2 separate regions of the Homo sapiens genome follow, and region 1 is linked to region 2. The links are contacts of gene promoters, found by promoter capture Hi-C in blood cells and fetal thymus (Javierre and others, 2016). All regions are on one chromosome and are shown on one strand. The core of a region is centred on a gene start or on the middle of the fragment in contact, and the rest is flanking DNA. Distances in the headings are between cores, read along the strand shown.

Region 1 (6,258 bases), core at 2,431-4,930, 620 kb after region 2:
AACACCTTGACTACACAAGTTGAATTATATCAATCTTCTTCCATATGCTTGAGAATTACCTCTTTCATGAAGCCTCAGAAACTTGCCTATTCCAATTATTTTAGGACTTTCTTTAGCTTTAGCACTTCTATTCAATTTTACGCTTTTTGTTTTTGTTTTTTTGAGATGGAGTCTCGCTCTGTTGCCCAGGCTGGAGTGCAAAGGCACAATCTTGGCTCACTGCAGCCTCCACCTCCCAGGTTCAAGCAGTTCTCCTGCCTCAGCCTCTTGAATAGCTGGAATTACAGGCACACGCCACCACGCCCAGCTAATTTTTATATTTTTAGTGGAGACGGGGTTTCACCATGTTGGTCAGGCTTGTCTCAAACTCCTGACCTTGTGATATGGCCGCCTCAGCCTCCCAAAGTGCTGGGATTACAGGCGTGAGCCACTGTGCCCAGTCATGTTTCTGTAGCTTTTTAAGTCTTGTTTTTGTCTTTGTGCTTACCTTCTCTTTTGATTATGAGCTCTTCACTAAGAAAAACGAAGGCTAATATCTGTTGGCTATTTAGCACAGTGCCTGGCACAGTAAATAATTTATCCATAATATTTCATCCATTTGTATATCAAATGTGAAGAATGTATTATTATTCTTCTCATTTTACAATGAGAAACTGAGGCTTGGAGTAAGCAACTTGCTCATTTTCAAGGAGCTCATGAGTGAAGGAGCTAGATTTGAACCCAGACCCATGACTCTAAAAATCCCAGCTCTAAACCACAAGGTTCTAATTCCTTTTTTTTTTTTTTTTTAAAAAAAACATAGTCTCGCTCTGTCGCGCAGGCTGCAGCGCAGCGGCGCGATCTCCACTCACTGCAACCTCTGACCCTGGGCTCAAGCAATTCTTGTACCTCAGCCTTTAGAGTGGCTGGGACTACAGGTGTGCACCACCATGCCCGGCAAATTTTTTGTAATTTTTTTTTTTTTTTTTTTAGGAGAGACAGGGTTTCACCATGTTGCCCAGGGTGGTCTCGAACTCCTGAGCTCAGGCAATCCACCTGCCTTGGCCTCCCAAAGTGCTAGAATTACAGGCATGAGCCACCATGCCCGGCCTTCTACTGTATTTTAAAGGCAGATGCTTCTCTTCCAGTCCTGTGTACAATCTTTTTTCACTCAATAAATGCTGCTGCTTGACTTAATGATACTCTAACATCAGATAAAGTCAGGCTGTAGTAAAGGTTTTTGATATAATGGGGTAAAGTCTCTAGAGAAAAAAGAAATTGACCTTGGGGCAGGGTGAAGCACCTCTAAGCTGGGGGTATGTGACAACCAGGTTACTTTCACTCGTCTTTTGGTTCCCATTAGCCAGTGTCAGCCATCTGGTCCTTCCGAAAACATGTGTGGGTTCAGAACATAACAGACTAGAAGAATAGAGGAAAAATAAGATTATTCTGTGCAATCCCCATTCTGGAGGTCCCATATCAACCCCCGGAGTCTGTCTTTGCTTCTAAGGCTCAGCAAAAATTAGACCAGCATAAAGAAGATGAAGACTTGGATCTAGACGTGGTGGATGTGAATGAATATTGGCAATATTATGTATTTAGGAATGTATTTAATTAGTTTTGCAAGGAATGGTGACTTGAACCAAAAAATATAAGCGTGAATGGTAGGAGGGAAATGGGCCAGAAATCAAAGAATACTAGAAAGTTTACAGACTTTCAACTATACAAAGGTTAAAGCAGCAACCAGAAAAGTACCATGCAGATGATAAACATCTAAGATGTGATTTAATTTTCATTAACTAAAAACTATTTTTAACATGCAGCCCACTAGGACTCTTCTTCACATTTCTTTGTAATAATTACTACTCCTATTTTTGAAAGTTTTACGATGTATAAAGCATTATGCTAAGTGCTTTACACACATTATATCCATTTAATTTTCACAACTCTGAGGTTTACTGTCATCTGACAGATCAAGAAACTAACTTAGAGGAGTTGAGTAACTTGCCAAGACTATCCCAAAGACCTGGGATTCTTCACACCCAGCTAACCTAAAACCTGCATTCTACCACCACGTTTTAACCGCCTCCTATATACCAATGAAAAGTGGTCCATAAAACCAGAGTTGGAGAAACACAAGCTCTTGCACAGAAAATCAGTTTCATCAAATTATGTGCTGTAGTGTGGAAGACAAATGCCCACAGGAATATAAGCATCTTATGAGAAAGAGTAAGTGGCAAGAAAACACCATTTCTGCATGTGATGTGTGTGTGCTAATACCAGTAAGTTGTGAACATTTATTCTCTACAAGTGGAACCAAACCCATATGCCATCAAAATTTTAATACTAGTCTAGGAAAATAGAAAAAGGTAACAAATCATTAAGAAACTTATATCTCAGCAATGAGAACACAAATATATCAGTGGGAAAATTAAACTCATGATCCTTTCTCATAAAGTAAACCAACTGCTGAAAAAAAATCTCTAATGATGAACTAACCAAACTCAAGCCCATGGTATTGAGTCCACATTGCAGATAACAGCCCATCTCTAACAGAATATATATTCACATAGTAGGGTGAGAAAAACAGAACAATCATTATCCTAAACACCAAACAGTAAAACTAAATCCTCCCAGAATGGGAGGTAGAGAGGAATCTGCATCAAATATGAATTTAGTCTTACTCTGTAACTACTCTATGAGCCTATTTGCCAACTTTGTTTTAGCTATTCAAAACTTTCAAAAATGAACTAAGTCAGCTAAGGTATTTCACTTTTACACTGCAAATAGTTTGTGGATCAAACTATCATTACCCCCTGCAATCATAACTGAACTTTCTTTTTTGATATTTTAAAGTCAACATGGCTTTCCTGAAAGGGAGGGCAGATACAATCATCTGTGTCCATTTCAATTTTCTGACACTTTTCAACACTAAGGATAAATGAAATTGAAAGCTTTCAAAAAAGGGGAATCAACTATTGCCTGATGACAAGAAGTTCGTGAAGACTCAACCACAAATTAAAAACGATTTGAAAAAACTCGAGAGATGAAAGTCACATTACCAATTTAGAATAAAACTCTTGGGATTTAATATAGAATTACTTTATCTGTTATTCCTACTTAAAGAAATAAAGGTTTACACTCTGCAGACAGCACTACCTGATTCCACACAAAAGCTACAAACAAAACCAGTTCATACTTACCTCTTAAACAACACAATGAGCAGGCTGCCAGGTGTTAAAGCTTCATTAAAGATGATGCCTCTTGGATCATCTTGGCTGTATGAGGCACCATGTCCCTCATAATCGCCCCTGGTCCCTGGGCTGGAGTCTGTTTCTTCATTTTCATTTTTGGTTAAAGATGCCACTCCCTATGCTTTTATTAATTAGTGGATGCCACTAATTAAGTATTTTAATGAATTTTTCAAATTCTTTTAAAATGGATGGATCAATAGCTTCATTTCAATTACATGAAAACCTTTCCAAGTCCATGTTTCTGGTCTGTGGTTCCTGACTCCCTTGCCTGAGCCTCCTGCTCTGTCTGCCCTCTTCATTCCTGAAGGCTGAATTCAAACCTCCCTCTTTCAGACTTCCTCTTCTCTCTAGGTCTTGGGGGTCTTTGTTCATGAAGGTCCCCTTTCTGGCATAAAAACCTAAACCCATGGTTGGGGACCTGGGAGAAATAAAGTGCCTTTCAAGCGCTTCTTCAGACATTGCGTGCAGTTCAGAAATCTTTAGCCTGGGAGACTTTCATCTCAACACACAGAAAACTCAAGTAAAACATTTCCTCAAACTATGGGCATACAAATTCAGAGCATAATCTAATCCCTCACCTTCAGGGTACTATAAGACCAGACGGCCCTAGGAATGACAATAAGGCAGAGAACATTTACTTGTACAAATCCTTCCTCAGCCAACCACGATAAAGCTGATACCACCTTACAGCTTTTCAAAGAGTAGCCTGAGGAGGAGAATCACTAGCAGTCTCCAACTAAGGACAACATCATAAAAAATACCATCTGTCTCACTTTTGGCAGTAACTTGTCAGCTTGCTGGAAGCCTCTACAGAGACTAAAGGCTGAACAAGCCCGGAAACCTGAACTACCCTCTCACCCTCAGAGGCAATCCCCAAAGGACAGGACTAAAGGAAATAGCATGAGGGAAGCTTTGAATGTCAATGCCCACATGTATCTAGTATGGGAATTTAAAAAATCTTCTATTTCCGGAGTTGTCAATAACTCATTTTGTAACCTTGGGCCAGTCACCTTATCACCCCATGCCTCAGTTTCCCCATCAGTACAAACTAGGGACAACACTTGTTCATAAAGTACTTTGACATACTCAGTTGAAAAATAAGTCATACAAATGCATTAATATTTTCGGAAGTTTTAAGATTTCAGTGTTAGCTTACAAATTTGTAAGTATCACCCCAACGGTATTCTCTCAGATGCCTGGAGCACCTTTCTTCTGAGGAGCTCAAAGTAAAATTTGCGGTTCTGGGTACCTGGAAGCATAAAAAAATACTAGAAACCCAAACCACATTTTATTACCGAGTCTATATCCTGTGCCTATCTTTTAAGAAGGGACAAATACTTCGTATGGCCCTTAAATTCATACAGTACCTCAATGAGAAAGGAGGAGCAAAACAGTATATTAAACTGAAGAACAGGGATTTTAAATGACTTAGTCAAATAATTACAAATGATGTTTATTCATACCACAAACTGAAGGGACCAAGAACCAAGGAGTGGAGGTCTTGAACCAGGGCAATTTACGCTGTTAACATTTGGTCAAAAATCTCAATATGGTATTATCTCTTGGCATTGATTTTTCAAAATGACAGAAAAAAATTAAATTCCCCATATATTGGGGGAAAAAAATAATACACTTTTTTGGGGGGTAAGTTGACTTTAAAAAGTGACTTTTAATAAAAAAAAATTTGATCACATTTGTAATAGTTATATTACTAATAAAACAATGACAGAATGCTACTTAATTCATAGTCCTATCTCTATTTATTATTCATTCAAGAAAAACTTCCTGATTATTTTTCACTTGGTAAATTAGCATCTTTTATTTTTATTTTTTATTTTTGAGACAGAGTCTCACTCTGTCACCCAAGCTGGAGTGGAATGGTGTGATCTCACACTGCAACTTCCGCCTCCCGGGTTCAAGCGGTTCTCCTGCCTCAGCCTCCCGAGTAGCTAGGATTGCAGGAGCCTACCACCATGCCCAGCTAATTTTTGTAATTTCAGTAGAGACAGGGTCTCATCATGTTGGTCAGGCTGGTCTCGAACTTCTGACCTCAGGTGATCCGCCCGCCTTGGCCTCCTAAAGTGCTGGAATTACAGACGTGAGCCACCACGCCTGGCCAGCAAACACAACAGGGGTACTCCATGCTGTTGAAGTGCCCATCACACGGGCATGCTCATACACTGCGGGTGTTAAGTGTAACTGGTGTAGCTTTTCTGGAAAGTTATTTGGTTATATGCACTGAGATACTTGAATATGTTCACTCCTGCTGTGACACATGAATTTTATTTCATGGAATCCATATGTACTCAGGGATAATAAAAATGCAAACAAAGTTTTATGCACATAATACCCATCACAGGGTTACTTATAACAGCAAGAATTAGGAGACCAAAAAAAAGGTAGACAATATAAGAGGAATGGTTGGGTAAGTCATAATATTGCCATACAATGGATTTTATGAAGCCATTAATAAGGAAGATTTTAATGTAATAGAAAATACATGAGATAAATTAAGTAAAAAAAGCGTGACACAAAATTGCACGTAAAACCTCACCCATCTTAAAAGGATGCTTAATGATACTTTTCACTTTATGCTTTCATAATATCTAAATGATCTACAATTAACCTACATTTATTCTCTAATGAGTCAAAAAGGCTTTTTTTTTTTTTTTTTTTTTTTTTGAGACAGAGTCTTGCTCTGTCATCCAGGCTGGAGTGCAGTGGTGCGATCTCGGCTCACTGCAAGCTCAGCCTCCCGGGTTCACGCCATTCTCCTACTTCAACCTCCCAAGTAGCTGGGACTACAGGCGCAGGCCAACAGGCCCGGCTAATTTTTTTTGTATTTTTTTTTTAGTAGAGATAGGGTTTCACCATGTTAGCCAGGATGGTCTCGATCTCCTGACCTCGTGATCCGCCCGCCTCGGCCTCCCAAAGTGCTGGGATTACAGGTGTGAGCCACCACGCCTGGCCTAAAAAGTTGTTTTTTTTTTTTCTTTTTTTTTTTTTTTTTTGAGATGGAGTCTCA
Region 2 (6,338 bases), core at 1,573-4,072:
TGCAGTGAGCTGAGATCACACCACTGCACTCCAGCCAGGGCGAGAGCGAGACTCTGTCTCAAAAGAAAAAACAAAAACCCACACCACCATACCCACTAACTCTGAGGCTTTAGTCATATAAAGAAAAATAGCCATTATATATTGTTCTTTTGTGCTCTTATAATGTGTAACCATGCCCTTTAATTAAAGAATTCCAGGATCTACAAAAAAAAAAGAAAGCAGAAAAAAGAAGCCAGGCGTGGTGGCTCACGCCTGTAATCCCAGCACTTTGGGAGGCCACAGTGGGGGGATCATGAGGTCAGGAGTTCTAGACCAGCCTGGCCAACATAGTGAAACCCTGCCTCTTCTAAAAATAAAAAAAAAAAAAAAAAAAAAAAAAAACTAGCCAGGCATGGTGGCAGGTGGCTGTAATCCGTCTCAAACAAAAAAAAAAAAAAAAAAAAAAAAAGAAAGAAAAGAAAAAAGAGGCTGGGCGCTGTGGCTCACACCTATAATCCCAGCACTTTGGGAGGCCAAGGCAGGAGGATCGCTTGAGCCTAGGAGTCCAAAATGAGCTTGGCCAACATAGTGAGCTCTCCTCTCTGCAAAAAAAAAAAAATTAGCCAGCTGTGGGGGTGCACACCTGTAGTGCCAGCTACTCTGGAGGCTGAGGCAGGAGGATCACTTGAGTCCGGGAGTTTGAGGCTGCAATAAGCCAAGATTGTGCCAATGCGCTCCAGCCTGGGCGACAGAGAGAGACCCTCTCTCAGAATGACTGACCAACTGAATAAATAAATAAATAAATAAAATAAAAATAATTCTAGGATCTGGCCTTAGGAGATCCAAATTATCCAACCAAGGTTGTGGAATGTCTCATCTCAGGAAGAAATGCTGAAAACTTCATTTACAGCCTTGTTGCTGACAGCCAAACTACCAGGTAGCCCAGTACTAAAGATAATCATTGGCTGGGCGCGATGGGTGGCTCACGCCTGTAATCCCAGCACTTTGGGAGGCCGAGGTGGGTGGATCACCTCAGGTCAGGAGTTCGAGACCAGCCTGACCAACATGGTGAAACCCCGTCTCTACTGAAAATACAAAAATTAGCTGTGCCTGGTGGTGGGCGCCTGTAATCCCAGCTACTCAGGAGGTGAAGCAGGAGAATAGCTAGAACCCAGGAGGCTAGATTCTAGCTATTCTGAGCCGAGATTGTGCCATTGCACTCCAGCCTGGGCGACAAAGGAAGACTCCGTCTCAAAAAAAAAAAAAAAGATAATCATTACAACAGGATATGCTGACCTTCATACCCCACCCTCATGAGCTTTGTCCTGCCCAGCCTGTAAACCCTACACTTGATATCACTTTCCGTGCTTTGCCCAATAAAACATCTCAACCAGCTCTTTTCGGAGAGTCAGGGAATTCTCGCTCTCTTGTGCTGCCTCCCTTATACCCAGGCATAAGCTCCAATGAAGACTTGTCTGGGAAAACTTTTTTGGCCTCATGTTAATTTCTGTTGGATTGAGAGCCTAAGAACCCCTGGTAACAATAGGGAGGTAGTGGAACCGGGTTGTCCGGAGGGATATTTTCACTTTTTTGGATGCACTTGTATCTGCAGTTTTTTACAACGAGCATATATTAATGTTGTAATTATGTGTGTGTTTGTGTGTGTGTGTACGTGTGTATGTTTTTTGTTTTTTGTTTTTTTTTTAATTTGAGACAGAGTCTCACTCTGTCGCCCAGGCTGGAGTGCAGTGGCGCGATCTCGGCTCACTGCAGCCTCTGCCTCCCGGGTTCAAGTGATTATCCTGTCTCAGCCACCTGAGTAGCTGGGACTACAAGTGCACACCATCATACCCGGCTAATTTCTGTATTTTTAGTAGAGACGGGGTTTCACCATGTTGGCCAGGATGGTCTCGATCTCCTGACCTCGTGATCTGCCCACCTCGGCCTCCCAAAGTGTTGGGATTACAGGCGTGAGCCACCGCGCCCGGCCTTGTTTGTTTTCTAAATATGTAAAGTCAGAAATTAACCCAAGTAACGAGCATACATATATATGTGTGTGTGTGTGTGTATATATGTATATATATGTGTATGTGTGTATATATGTGTATATGTGTATTATGTGTGTATATGTGTATATATGTGTATATATATGTGTATGTGTGTGTGTGTGTGTATGTATATATATGGAGTCTTGCTCTGTCACCAGGCTGCGGTGCAATGGCGCTATCTCGGCTCACTGCAACTTCTGCCCCCTGGGTTTAAGCGATTCTCCTGCCTCAGTCTCCCGAGTAGCTGCGACTACCAGCGCTCGCCACCACGCCCGCTAATTTTCGTACTTTTAGTAGAGAGGGGGTTTCCCCCTGTTGGCGAGGATGGTCTCGATTTCTTCACCTCGTGATCCGCCCGCCTCGGCCTCCTCAAGTGCTGGGATTACAGGCGTGAGCCACCGTGCCCAGCCCTAACGAGCATATATTAATGTTGTAATTATATGTGTCTGTGTGTGTGTGGTTTTGTTTTCTATATAAAGTCAGACGAGTGTGTGTGTGTAGTTTTGTTTGTTTTCTAAATATATAAAGTCAGAAATAAACCCAAGTAACCCAGCCGCCTGGGCCAGGTGGTATCTGGCCCGCCCCATTCCAGCCTGAACTCCGCCCACCGCGATCCGGAAGCCTAGCGCCCAGTGGGTTGCAGGAAAAACCCGGAGCTGAACACACTGCCCGACCCGGGCCGCTGCGCTCGGGAGCCTGCGCAGAAGCCGTCGGAGGCGCATGCTCTGTAGCGGTCTCCGCAGCCAGGATTGGCGCCCGCGCGGGCCTTCGAGCCCCGCCCGCAGAGCCCCGCCCGCAAAGCCCCACCCCGGTGCGCGGGTATGGCGGCCAGCCTGTGGATGGGCGACGTGAGTGAGGGCAGCCGTCCGGGGTCTGAAGACAAGGAAGCATCTCGGTTTCGCGAGAGAGGAAGGATCTGAGTGGGAGGGGACTTGGGATCCCAGAAAGGGGAGACGTGTGACGGGGGTTCTTTTTGGTGACACAGAAGCGGGTTCCAGCATCTAAGTGAAGAGGCTGAGTCCGTGAGGCTAGGGGTCCTGGGGCCCCACCTGGGTTCGTGGGAGGGAAAGGTGGTGCTTTGGGGACATAGAATGGGAGCAATCCAAGGACTGAGGCGCGCTGTTCTGGGACCGGAGGAGTGGGGTTTCTAGGTCCAAGGGGAGGCTCCCTAAAGCGGGGCAAGCTTGAACCAAAAGAGCTGGGGTTTCAGGCCGCTCAGTGGAGGCGAACCTCGCCCCTCGCTCCCCCAGCGGCGCGTAGCCAGCCCTGGGCTGAACGGGAGGGGCTCTGGAACCCGGAGTGGGAAGCCCGGCCGCCGGCCTGAGCCGCTGTGCTCTTGTTTTTACGCAGCTGGAACCCTACATGGATGAGAACTTCATCTCCAGAGCCTTTGCCACCATGGGGGAGACCGTAATGAGCGTCAAAATTATCCGAAACCGCCTCACTGGGTAAGTCTCATCTCAGGTCTCTCTTAATACATCTCGTTGCAGCTGTCATGTACGAGAATGTAAACATCGTAGTCATGGCTTCTCACTACCCCTAGTAATAGTCACTGTAAAATTATAACAGCTAACATTTTGAGGTCCCAATGAGTGGAAGGATGGCATGTAGCTTAAGGGTAGGACTTGCCAGGCGTTGTGACTCACACCTGTAATCCCAGCACTTTGGGAGGCTGAGGTGGGTGGATCACCTGAGGTCAGGAGTTTGAGACCAGCCTGGCCAACATGGTGAAACCCCGTCTCTACTAAAAATACAAAAATTAGCCGGGTGTGGTGGCAGGCACCTGTAACCCCAGCTACTCCGGAGGCTGAGGCATGAGAATCACTTGAACCCGGGAGGCGAAGGTTGCAGTGAGCTGAGATCGTGCCACTGTACTTCAGCTTGGACAACAAGAGCAAAACAATGTCTCAAAAAAAAAAAAAACAAAAAAACAAAAAACGCAGGACTCAAGCGAGACTGGGTTTGAAAGCTATTTCTACTCTATGACCTTGGGTAAGTTACTTAACTGCTCTGTCTCATTCACTTTGAGTATAAAAATGGAAATAACAGCACCTACCTCCTAGAGTTATGGTGAGGATTAAATGAGTTAATTCACATTCATCATTAGGACAGTGTATGGCATATAGCATATGCTCAGTAAGTATAGTCAGATTACGATCTGCTGAGTAATAAGCAGTTTACATCCATTATCTCCTTAAAACCTCAGAAACTTCTGAGGTAGGTAAATACTATTATGAAGAGGCTTAATAACTTGAAGAGTTACAATAAATAGCCGGGCGCAGTGGCTCTCGCCTGTAATCCTAGCACTTTGGGAGGCCGAGGCAGGCCGGATCACGAGGTCAGGAGATTGAGACCATCCTGGCTAACACGGTGAAACCCCATCTCTACTAAAAATACAAAAAAAATTAGCTGGGCATGGTGGCGGGCACTTGTAGTCTCAGCTACTTGGGGGGCTGAGGCAGGAGAATGGCGTGAACCCAGGAGGCGGAGCTTGCAGTGAGCCGAGATCGCTCCACTCCACTCCAGCCTGGGCGACAGCTGAGACTCTGTCTCAAAAAAAAAAAAAAAGAGTTATAATAAATAACAAGTCAGGACTTGAATTCGAGTCTATCCTGAAAGCTCATGAGGGCCCTTAACTCTTATGCCATTCATTTAAAAAATTGTGGAGGATGGGTGCGGTGCCTCATGCCTGTAATCCCAGCACTTCGGGAGGCGAGAAGGGTGGATCACCTGAGGTCAGGAGTTGGAGACCAGCCTGACCAACATGGAGAAACCCTGTCTCTACCAAAAATTAGCCAGGCGTGGTGGTGCATGCCTGTAATCCCAGCTACCTGGGAGGCTGAGGCAGGAGAATCGCTTGAACTTGGGAGGCAGAGGTTGTAGTGAGCCGAGATCGCGCCATTGCACTCCAGCCTGGGCAATAAGAGCGAAACTCCATCTCAAAAAAAAAAAAAAAATTATCTGTGGAGATACTACTGTGTTCTACTGTTATACATTCCTGGCTGAAATAATCCAGATATAGCCCCTGCTCATGGAGTTTACTACATTCTAGTGGGGAATGAGACAATAAATAAGTAAACATAACCAAATGCGTATTTTCAGATAGAGGTTCTCTATTGCCTCCATGTTCTTCTTTCTCTTTGAGGTCTTAGTTTTCCTTAGGGAATTATCAATTTGTCAGTGTTTATCAAGCAGCTACTCTTTTCCTTTTTTTTTTTTTTTTGAGACGGAGTCTCGCTCTGTCACTACCCAGGTTGGAGTGCAGTGGCGCGATCTTGGCTCACTGAAAGCTCCGCCTCCTGGGTTCACGCCATTCTCCAAGCAGCCACTCTTTTCTCGGTACTCTACTACATGTGGCTTGCTAAAACATCAAATGGTTTAAAAATAGAGATGAGACATTTGAAAGATACTTTGTGTATTCAGAACCCCATTACCTAGGAAAAGGTTTTTCTGACTGGTAGATCGTGCCCACCTAAATATTTCTCTTCTTGCTCTTCTAAGCAGAAAACCCCAGATAATCAGCTACTGGTATGAAAATTCATTCTGTAACCTTTCTCATTTTTTTTTCTTTTTTTTTTTTTTGAGACGGAGTCTTGCTCTGTGGCCCAGGCTGGTGTGCAGTGGCACGATCTCGGCTCACTGCAAGCTCCACCTCCTGGGTTCAAGCCATTCTCCTGCCTCAGCCTCCCAAGTAGCTGGGACTACAGGCGCCCGCCACCACGCCAGGCTAATTTTTTGTATTTTTAGTAGAGATGGGGTTTCACCATGTTAGCCAGATGGTCTCAATCTCATGACCTCGTGATCCGCCTGCCTTGGCCTCCCAAAGTGCTGGGATTACAGGTGTGAGCCACCGCGCCCGGCCCCTTTCTACTTTTTAAAACACTGGCATAGGCTGGGCACGGTAGCTCACACTTGTAATCCCAGCACTTTGGGAGGCTGAGGTGGGCAGATCACTTGAGGTCAGGAATTTGAGAACAGCCTGGACAACATGGTGAAACCTTGTCTCTACTAAAAAAATACAAAAATTAGCCAGGTGTGGTGAGACACACCTGTAATTCCAACTACTTGAGAGGCTGAGGAAGGAGAATCGTTTGAACCCAGGAGGTAGAGGTTGCAGTGAGCCGAGATTGTGCCACTGTGCTCCAGCCTGGGTGACAGAGGGAAACTTTGTTGCAAAAATAAATAAGTAAAACACTGGCATAGATTCTCACATTTTAATCTTTTTTTTTTTTTTTTTTCTGAGGCATAGTCTCCCTCTGTTGCCCAGGCTGAAGTGCAATGGCACCATCTTGGCTCACTGCAACCTCCGCC

What was found. Contacts are between HindIII fragments. The CHiCAGO score rates a contact against its expected background, and 5 or more counts as called.
Region 1: a fragment that was not itself captured here is called in contact with the fragment with the promoter of TRNAU1AP in region 2 in 5 of 17 cell types (total CD4 T cells, non-activated CD4 T cells, total CD8 T cells and 2 more); the score reaches 6.4 in total CD4 T cells.

Annotation. Positions count from the first base shown.
Region 1 is chr1:29,167,241-29,173,498 of GRCh38, forward strand. All of the region lies in intron 1 of SRSF4 (serine and arginine rich splicing factor 4), which reads right to left. It also overlaps a transcript of MECR not described here. Among named protein-coding and RNA genes, the nearest start is that of SRSF4, 12 kb to the right of the region's middle. The HindIII fragment of the contact is 921 bases long and covers 3,221-4,141 here.
Region 2 is chr1:28,550,263-28,556,600 of GRCh38, forward strand. It overlaps TRNAU1AP (tRNA selenocysteine 1 associated protein 1), which reads left to right and starts at 2,823. Exons shown (of 9, transcript NM_017846.5): 1 at 2,823-2,875; 2 at 3,378-3,475. The coding sequence starts at 2,849. RefSeq lists enhancers at 2,535-2,829, 2,553-2,612 and silencers at 2,763-2,902, 3,835-4,129. The HindIII fragment of the contact is 4,615 bases long and covers 1-3,208 here.